2 separate regions of the Homo sapiens genome follow, and region 2 is linked to region 1. Evidence: promoter capture Hi-C in human tissues and cell types (Jung and others, 2019). All regions are on one chromosome and are shown on one strand. The core of a region is centred on a gene start or on the middle of the fragment in contact, and the rest is flanking DNA. Distances in the headings are between cores, read along the strand shown.

Region 1 (5,055 bases), core at 1,759-4,258:
TAAATTTTGTATTTTAGTAGAGATGGGGTTTCACCATGTTGACCAGGCTGGTATCAAACTCCTGACCTCGTGATCCACCCACCTCAGCCTCCAAAAGTGCTGGGATTACAGGCGTGAGCCACCGTGCCCGGCTTTTTTTTTTTTTTTTTTTTTTTTTGGTGGAGTCTCACTCTGTCACCCAGGCTGCAGTGCAGTGGCACAATCTCGGTTCTCTGCAACCTCCAACTCCCTGGTTCAAGCGATTCTCCTGCCTCAGCCTCCCAAGTAGTTGGGATTATAGGCGCCCGCCACCACACCCAGCTAATTTTTGTAAATTTTAGTAGAGACGGGGTTTCACCATATTGGCCAAGATGGTCTGGATCTCCTGACCTTGTGATCCTCCCGTCTCGGCCTCCCAAAGTGTTGGGATTACAGGCGTGAGCCACCATGCCCGGCCATGCTCTGCTCTTATGAGCTGGGTGGCCCTGAATATTTTATCCTCTCTGAGCTTCACTTTCCTCATTTTGAAATCAGAATCAGTAATAATACCTTCCACATGGGCTACAGTCAGGGTGAAACAAGCAACTATAAAAGCACTGAGCTCCTGGCTAACACGGTGAAATCCCGTCTCTACTAAAAATATAAAAAATTAGCTGGGCATGGTGGTGGGTGCCTGTAGTCCCAGCTACTCGGGAGGCTGAGGCAGCATGGCGTGAACCCGGGAGGCGGAGCTTGCAGTGAGGCAAGAGCGAGACTTTGTCTCAAAAAAAAAAAAGCACTGAGTATGGGTTCCAGCACATGGGAAGCTCTCTATAATGTAGGTGCCACCATCATCTTCTTCATCATCGTCTTCATCTCACCTGGATCATCATCAAGTACTTGTAGTTCTATGGGAATCTAATATTAGGTCATCCTGACTCTAGTTTACTGTGAAGAGTCTATAAGCTCCTATTATTGAACCTGCGTTTGCAGCTAAAGAAATAAATTGACATCTTATGGTGGCAGCGATGGTTCACACCTGCAATCCCAGCATTTTGGGATGCCAAGGCGGGAGGATCACTTGAAGTCAGGAGTTCAAGACCAGCCTGGCCAAAATGGTGAAATCCATCTCTACTAAAAATACAAAAATTAGCCAGGCATGGTGGCTTGCACCTGTAGTCTCAGCTACTTGGGAGGCTGAGGCAGGAGAATGGCATGAACCCGGGAGGCAGAGGTTGCAGTGAGCCAAGATCATGCCACTGCACTCCAGCCTGGGCGACAGAGCGAAACTCCATCTCAAAAGAAAAAACAGAAAAAAAAAAAAAAAGGAAGAAATTTACATTTTATAACTCAAAGTAGAAGGAACACAATTTAGAAACCTCCTGCATGGAAGAATTCATAAGACCAAAATATTAAAGGGAGAAAACATTCTATAGGATGACACCCAATCGCACTGACAAGCAGAGAAACAATGTGTGCAATGGTGTCCCGCTACAAGGCGGGGTTCCATGTCCTCTTAGGTCCTGTCACTCTAAGTTTAATTTTACAAAAATGGGGGCTTTGAAAATATCACATACTTAGTGGGGGAGGTTTTGCGTGTGTGGAGACAGAGTGCACAGGACCGTCCGTACTTTCTGCTCCATTTTGCTGTGAATCTAACACTGCCCCAAAAAATAAAGTTCATTAAAAAAAATCACGGCCAGGCGCGGTGGCTCACGCCTGTAATCCCAGCACTTTGGGAGGCCGAGGCAGACGGATCACAAGGTCAGGAGTTTGAGACCAGCCTGGCCAACACAGTGAAACCTCGTCTTTACTAAAAATACAAAAAATTAGCTGGGCGTGGTGGCGCACGCCTGTAGTCCCAGATACTCAGGAGGCTGAGGCAGAAGAATTGCTTGAACCTGGGAGGCGGAGGTTGCAGTGAGCTGAGATTGTTCCACCGTTCTCCAGCCTGGGTGACAGAGTGAGACTCTGTCTCAAAAAAAAAAAATCACATCCTAAGGTCCCAAGGACATAAAACAAGTTAGAGACCTCATCCAGTTTTTTGTTTGTTTCAGGGACCTGCAACCAACTTTCTTACTGACCAGTTTCCTGGGCTGTCTAGAACAGACAGCTTATGGGGTACTAACCCCATGCTCTATCCTAAGGTACCCCTCTTCATGCAGAGCGACACAGAAAAACAAATTTGTAGCACAAAGTACACCCGATTTGCTACAGCTTACGACTAGCCTCATGAATCCTTTTTCTCATTAATTCAAAGTTTGCAAAAAAAAGAAATCACATACTTAAAAATAAATCACTTGAGCACAGAAGCATATCAAAATCTAATATAAACAAACAAAAAACCCAACTTATGTTAACATGCCACTGAAACTGGGCTCAAGTTTTCAAATGTCTTATGAAATATTACACTCTCCAGCAGGCTATTTTTTTTTTCCTAACTGGAGATGAATGGCAGAGTTCTGATATGGAAAAGCACTCCATGTTTGTACAGAAAGGTAGCATAGGAAAAGTGGTCAAATTCAACCAGTCTGTCCTCATCAAACAGGCAACTACTGTCTTCTCAGCATTTCCAAAAGAAATCATATGTCTGCTACTGTTTATGTCATATGCCTGTTAATTTTTCATGCTAATTCTTAGTGTTTCTGGAAAACCTCACTGTTTGGCACCAAAAATTGTTATTGCTATTGTTGTTGTTTTGTTAATTATGTCAGCCAAGCAGATGACGGTGAATTAATTCTGCAACGTTGAGTACTCAGTTGGCATACAAGCACCCAGCCTTCCAAAGGGATGTCCTTCATGTTTCACTGATTTTCGAATGACAGTCGGCTTGCCTAAACTTATCCTTTACATTTAAGACATTTTGTGGGTTCCCGTCTGCCCAGGGGATTCTTATTACTTGTTTATGCAAACAGCAGGTTGCATAAGAGCCTTGCTGGCTTTTTTTTTTTTTTTTTTTTTTAGAGATTTCGTAGTTTCCTGGTAACCATTCAGTCATCTATTTCAACACCCTGACATGACATAAAGGCAGGCGTGGAACCACACGTTCACCACACAGACACACACCTCCTTGCTGGAGCATTCACTAGGCGAGGCGCTCCATCGGACTCACTAGCCGCACTCATGAATCGGCACCATCTGCAGGATCACTTTCTGGAAATAGACAAGAAGAACTGCTGTGTGTTCCGAGATGACTTCATTGTCAAGGTGTTGCCGCCGGTGTTGGGGCTGGAGTTTATCTTCGGGCTTCTGGGCAATGGCCTTGCCCTGTGGATTTTCTGTTTCCACCTCAAGTCCTGGAAATCCAGCCGGATTTTCCTGTTCAACCTGGCAGTGGCTGACTTTCTACTGATCATCTGCCTGCCCTTCCTGATGGACAACTATGTGAGGCGTTGGGACTGGAAGTTTGGGGACATCCCTTGCCGGCTGATGCTCTTCATGTTGGCTATGAACCGCCAGGGCAGCATCATCTTCCTCACGGTGGTGGCGGTAGACAGGTATTTCCGGGTGGTCCATCCCCACCACGCCCTGAACAAGATCTCCAATCGGACAGCAGCCATCATCTCTTGCCTTCTGTGGGGCATCACTATTGGCCTGACAGTCCACCTCCTGAAGAAGAAGATGCCGATCCAGAATGGCGGTGCAAATTTGTGCAGCAGCTTCAGCATCTGCCATACCTTCCAGTGGCACGAAGCCATGTTCCTCCTGGAGTTCTTCCTGCCCCTGGGCATCATCCTGTTCTGCTCAGCCAGAATTATCTGGAGCCTGCGGCAGAGACAAATGGACCGGCATGCCAAGATCAAGAGAGCCATCACCTTCATCATGGTGGTGGCCATCGTCTTTGTCATCTGCTTCCTTCCCAGCGTGGTTGTGCGGATCCGCATCTTCTGGCTCCTGCACACTTCGGGCACGCAGAATTGTGAAGTGTACCGCTCGGTGGACCTGGCGTTCTTTATCACTCTCAGCTTCACCTACATGAACAGCATGCTGGACCCCGTGGTGTACTACTTCTCCAGCCCATCCTTTCCCAACTTCTTCTCCACTTTGATCAACCGCTGCCTCCAGAGGAAGATGACAGGTGAGCCAGATAATAACCGCAGCACGAGCGTCGAGCTCACAGGGGACCCCAACAAAACCAGAGGCGCTCCAGAGGCGTTAATGGCCAACTCCGGTGAGCCATGGAGCCCCTCTTATCTGGGCCCAACCTCTCCTTAAATAACCATGCCAAGAAGGGACATTGTCACCAAGAACCAGGATCTCTGGAGAAACAGTTGGGCTGTTGCATCGAGTAATGTCACTGGACTCGGCCTAAGGTTTCCTGGAACTTCCAGATTCAGAGAATGCGATTTAGGGAAACGGTGGCAGATGAGTGGGAGACTGGTTGCAAGGTGTGACCGCAGGAATCCTGGAGGAATAGAGAGTAAAGCTTCTAGGCATCTGAAACTTTTGCTTCATCTCTGACGCTCGCAGGACTGAAGATGGGCAAATTGTAGGCATTTCTGCTGAGCAGAGTTGGAGCCAGAGATCTACTTGTGACTTGTTGGCCTTCTTCCCACATCTGCCTCAGACTGGAGGGGGCTCAGCTCCTGGGGTGATATCTAGCCTGCTTGTGAGCTCTAGCAGGGATAAGGAGAGCTGAGATTGGAGGGAATTGTGTTGCTCCTGGAGGGAGCCCAGGCATCATTAAACAAGCCAGTAGGTCACCTGGCTTCCGTGGACCAATTCATCTTTCAGACAAGCTTTAGCAGAAATGGACTCAGGGAAGAGACTCACACGCTTTGGTTAATATCTGTGTTTCCGGTGGGTGTAATAGGGGATTAGCCCCAGAAGGGACTGAGCTAAACAGTGTTATTATGGGAAAGGAAATGGCATTGCTGCTTTCAACCAGCGACTAATGCAATCCATTCCTCTCTTGTTTATAGTAATCTAAGGGTTGGGCAGTTAAAACGGCTTCAGGATAGAAAGCTGTTTCCCACCTCTGTTTGCTTTTAACATTAAAAGGGAAATGTGCCTCTGCCCCACAGTTAGAGGGGTGCACGTTCCTCCTGGTTCCTTCGCTTGTGTTTCTGTACTTACCAAAAATCTACCATTTCAATA
Region 2 (4,799 bases), core at 1,347-3,846, 160 kb after region 1:
CTCACTAATAATTGTCTAAAGTAGTTTCATTAACTTATTTTACCTTTAATAATCTCTGCATCAATAAGGTTCTTAACTGTCATTCCTTTCTTGGAAGAATCTGGTTCCCATTTTGAGAATGCACAATTACCGGTTCCCTGGAAAAATGAACACAGTACTTAAAATGCAAATTTCATTCTTAGACCTGAGCCTTCCTCAAAGTAGAAACATGTAAGTTTTATAGGTTACTAATTTTAAAATATATTTACATATTCTAACTTAACTAGGTTTCATCTTCCAGTTCCTCTCTTGGTTTCTGAAGAGAATGAAAAAAACAGTGTACTATTGGAATTCATGGTTATTACAATTTTTTTTTTTTTTTTAATTTGAGACAGGGTCTCACTCCATTGCCCAGGCTGGAGGGCAGTGATCACAGCTCACTGCAGCCTCAATCTCCTGGGCTCAAGCGATCCTCCCACCTCAGCCTCCCCAGTAGCTGGGACTACAGGTGAGCATCACCACACCCGGCTAATTTACTATTTGTTGTAGAGACAGGGTCTCCCTATGTTGCTGAGACTGGTCTCAACCTCCTGGGTGCAAGCAATCCTCCCACCTCAGCCTCTCAAAGTGTTGGGATTACAGGCATGAGCCACCATGCCAGCCTTCACATAAATATTTAATGAGCGTATTTAGGCAACTAGCACTAAAGACATGCAGTGAACTTTTAAGACCTCTTCCAGGATTATGATTAAAATATAGTCTTTGATAAGTATTTTCATTAAAATACCACAGATATTTGGAAAAAAAATTTATAAATATTAATTTTAAATTCTTTGAAACCCTGGTGAAATGTTAAATTAGATATGCTCAATGTGGAAATATGACTGCTTCTTTTCTCTCTTTTTTGTTTCTTCTCTTTTTAGAGACAGGATCTCACTGTGTTGCCAGGCCGCAGTGAAGTGGGGTGATCACAGGTGTGATCAGAGCTACTGCAGCCTGATACTCCTGGGCTCACGCAATTCTTCTGCCTCAGCTTCCCAAGTAGCTGGGACCATAGGAGCATGCCATGACACGCAGCTGACTACTTCTTAATATATAAATTTGGCAAGTAAAAATGTTGTAAACGTAATTATACTGAGTTTCTGCCTATTCTTTGAATATAACATTAGGTATTTTCCCCCAAAATTTAAAGAAATTATGATCAGGGTTACTGGAAGTGACATACCAATAATGAAATGTTACTTTTTACATGTAACATGAGATATAAGACATTATACAGCAATGTATACATGCCAATGGTTGTGAATGAATTGTGCTTTTCTACGTGCATCCTTGTCCACGTTCCCATTTCACTAATAACAAAACTTGCAAGTAGCCTAGCTAGCCAAGACTAAGAATAACGTAGAATCACTTAGGAGGCAGGCATTACATCAAAGACACTTTACTCTTTAGGACCATTCTCTAACACTAAGGTTCTTAACCTGAATTATTTCAAGATTCAACGGATTTGTGAAGCTGGATGGGCAAAAAATTTACATCTTTATTTTCACTAATCTCCATCTGAAACAGAATTTCTTTCACTTATGAATGTAGGCCACAAAAACCCCAAAAAACAAAAAGCAGTAGAATCAGCAGTCCCTGTGAGTATGTCACCAGTAGTAATTACACTTCCTATTAGAAAAACTATGATGACCATAATTTTGAAGTAGTGGTGTGTAAATATTTATTTCAAGACAGCTGCAATAATGTGCTGTTTTTCCATTAGTGACAAAGTCACAGGTACTGTAACAATGGAATTTTTTGGTTTTGTTTTCTATCGTTTTTGTCTGCTCTCATAATTGAAAAAAATGCTGTACTTTCAGGTAAAGACTAGGGAAAGTAAAGATGCAATATTTTTTCCAAGACAGAAATTTATTTATTGAGTTATTTTTAATTACCTTAATTTTATAATTTCCTTGTTTCGGTTATATGTTACAAATTATTTTGCAATTTAACCAAAACAAAAACATTTTTCTGAGAAAATGCTTTAGGCAACAAAAAACAAAACTTTATAAAAACAATTACCCCAATTATCACAGGAACTTCACTTGCTAAATCTCCAGCCACAAGACTGAGACAACCAAGAGTATGATAATTTTCAGTAGAAATAAAACTGGACTTGATTTGTCCTTGTAACTGCAAAATTAAAAACAACAACGTCATATATATAATACATATTTATGCTCCATAAAATCACTAAAATCAGTTGATATCAATCAGTTATAAATTTTTTTTTTTTTTTTTGGAGACAGAGTTTTGCTCTTGTTGCCCAGGCTAGAGTGCAATGGCGCAATCTCGGCTCACCACAACCTCTGCCTCCCGAGTTCAAGTAATTCCCTGCCTCAGCCTCCTGAGTAGCTGGGAGTACAGGCATGCGCCACCACCCCCCGGCTAATTTTGTATTTTTTAGTAGAGATGGGGTTTCTCCAGTTGGTCAGGCTGGTCTCGAACTCCGGACCTCAGGTGATCCGCCCCCTTGGCCTCCCAAAGTGCTGGGATTACGGGCATAAATGTATTTTTAAATAGAAATGTTATTAAAATGTTATATCATAATAATTTCTAAAATATCAAGAAGTAGACCAATTATATACAGAAACATTCTACTACATTAATATTAAATGTAATTTTTTTAAGAGGACAATATGGATTTATTTTCTTACCTTTTTTGCTGTACTGAAGTCTACATTCTCAATTGCTGCATTAAAAAAGAAAGCAGGCTAAATGTATAGTATTAATCTACAAAATAATACAAGTCACCTGTTTTGTGTCAAGGTGAAATTAAATACAATCTAGTTCAAAGAACACTGGTGAGAATTAAGTTTTGCCCCTGACCAAAATACGCTAACTGTGACATGTTAGATTCAGGGCACCAGCCAGTACCTCTCCATACCTACCCTTACCACCTCTCTTCCTACTAAGGGGATCTTCTCCCTACTCCAACTCTCCTGTGCTTCTCACTGTTTGGAATAGCTCTTACGTTTCTAGCTCCATCATGAAGCTATGGAAAACAAATCTTCAATCTTGTCATATACCCAAGACGTAGCACAGGCCTGGCAAGTCAGTATTTTAAAAATATCACTTAGGCCGGGCGCAGTGGCTCATGCCTACAATCCCAGCACTTTGGGAGGCCAAGACGGGCAAATCACTTGACGTGAGGAGTTCGAGACCAGCCTGGCCAACATGGTGAAACCCCGCCTCTAGTAAAAATACAAAAATTAGCCAGGTGTGGTGGTGCGCACCTGTAATCCCAGTTACTTGGGAGACTGAGGCACAAGAATCACTTGAACCTGGGAAGCGGAGGTTGCAGTGAGCCGATATCATACCACTGTACTCCAGCCTGGGCGACAGAGCAAGACTCCATCTCAAAAATAAATAAATAAATAAAAATAATAAAATAAAACAAAATGTTAAATACCTGTTCCAAATCCATTCCTCAAATAATTTCACTTGGCTTAGAGGGATAAATGGTCCAGACTACTAGCTTAAAACATATTTTACATTATTGTTCTGCACTATATATTTTTTTTTTTGAGACAGAGTTTCGCTCTTGCTGCCCAGGCTGGAGTGCAACAGCGTGATCTCAGCTCACCGCACCTCTGCCTCCTGGGTTCAAATTATTCTCCTGCCTCAGCTTCCCGACTAGCTGGGATTACAGGCGCCTGCCACCCTGTCTGGCTAATTTTGTATTTTTAGTAGAGACAGGGTTTCTTCATGTTGGTCAGGCTGGTCTTGCACTCCCAACCTCAGGTGATCTGCCCGCCTTGGCCTCCCAAAGTGCCAGGATTACAGGCATGAGCCACCACGCCAGCCCTGTTCTGCACTATTAACACTACATAGTCATTTCCATTTCCAGGTTCATCCACCACATTAAAAAGTATTTACTATTGTGCTAGCATATGTCTTGTCTCCCCAACTAAACTGTTGAAGCTTATCTCCCCAAACTAAGCTCCTTGAAGGCCATATCAAAATTACATTTATTCAGATACTGTTCCAGCTCTAACAGAGGAGAATAACTGTATTCTGAATACTTAACAGTATACCCAATTATAACTAAATACAAGTAAGATAAAATAAGCTTAAAGAGAGTACTTAAAATTTTACTATTACATTAATAAAACTAGTAAATATTGCTGCAAATCAATAATAAAAATATAATGTATTACTTACCTTGTTGAATTTTTAAAAGCTGAAGGTTTGTAATACAAAAAAATCCACTGTATGTAAGAAGTAGCATATAATAGGTACCTATTGAAATAAAATCAGAATCAGTTTCTTTTTTTTGAGATGGAGTCTCATTCTGTCGCTAGGCTGGAGTGCAGCAGCGCGATCTCGGCTCCCTGCAACCTCCGCCTCTAGGGTGCAATTCTCCTGCCTCAGCCTCCCAAGTAGCTGGGACTACAGGCGTGCACCACCATGCCCAGCTAATTTTTGTATTTTTAGTAGAGACAGGGTTTCACCATGTTGGCCAGGATGGTCTTGATCTCTTGACCTCATGATCTGCTTGCCTCAGCCTCCCAAAGTGCTGGGATTACAGGCCTGAGCCACTGCTCACGGCTGGGAATCAGTTACTTTAAAAGGCACATGGATATAAAATTTAAACCAGTGTCTGTTTGAACGTGGCTTTTGAAGAAAGAGAGAAAGACAGAAAGAGGCGGGGCGCAGTGGCTCACGCCTGTAATGCCAACACTTTGGGAGGCCAAGGCAGGTAGATCACGAGGTCAGGAGCTCGAGACCAGCCTGACCAACATGGTGAAACCCCGTCTCTACTAAAAATATAAAAA

What was found. Contacts are between HindIII fragments. The study calls those that stand out against the background at their distance.
Region 2: a contact is called between a fragment that was not itself captured here and the fragment with the promoter of HCAR2 in region 1, in 2 of the 25 tissues and cell types used here (mesenchymal stem cells and thymus).

What each region holds. Positions count from the first base shown.
Region 1 is chr12:122,701,310-122,706,364 of GRCh38, reverse strand. It overlaps HCAR2 (hydroxycarboxylic acid receptor 2), which reads left to right and starts at 3,008. Exons shown (of 1, transcript NM_177551.4): 1 at 3,008-5,055. The coding sequence starts at 3,082. The coding sequence ends at 4,173. The HindIII fragment of the contact is 9,565 bases long and covers 1-4,541 here.
Region 2 is chr12:122,541,514-122,546,312 of GRCh38, reverse strand. KNTC1 (kinetochore associated 1) reads right to left here. Exons shown (of 64, transcript NM_014708.6): 6 at 4,186-4,263; 7 at 2,679-2,713; 8 at 2,044-2,154; 9 at 44-137. Among named protein-coding and RNA genes, the nearest start is that of KNTC1, 17 kb to the right of the region's middle. The HindIII fragment of the contact is 5,850 bases long and covers 1-4,799 here.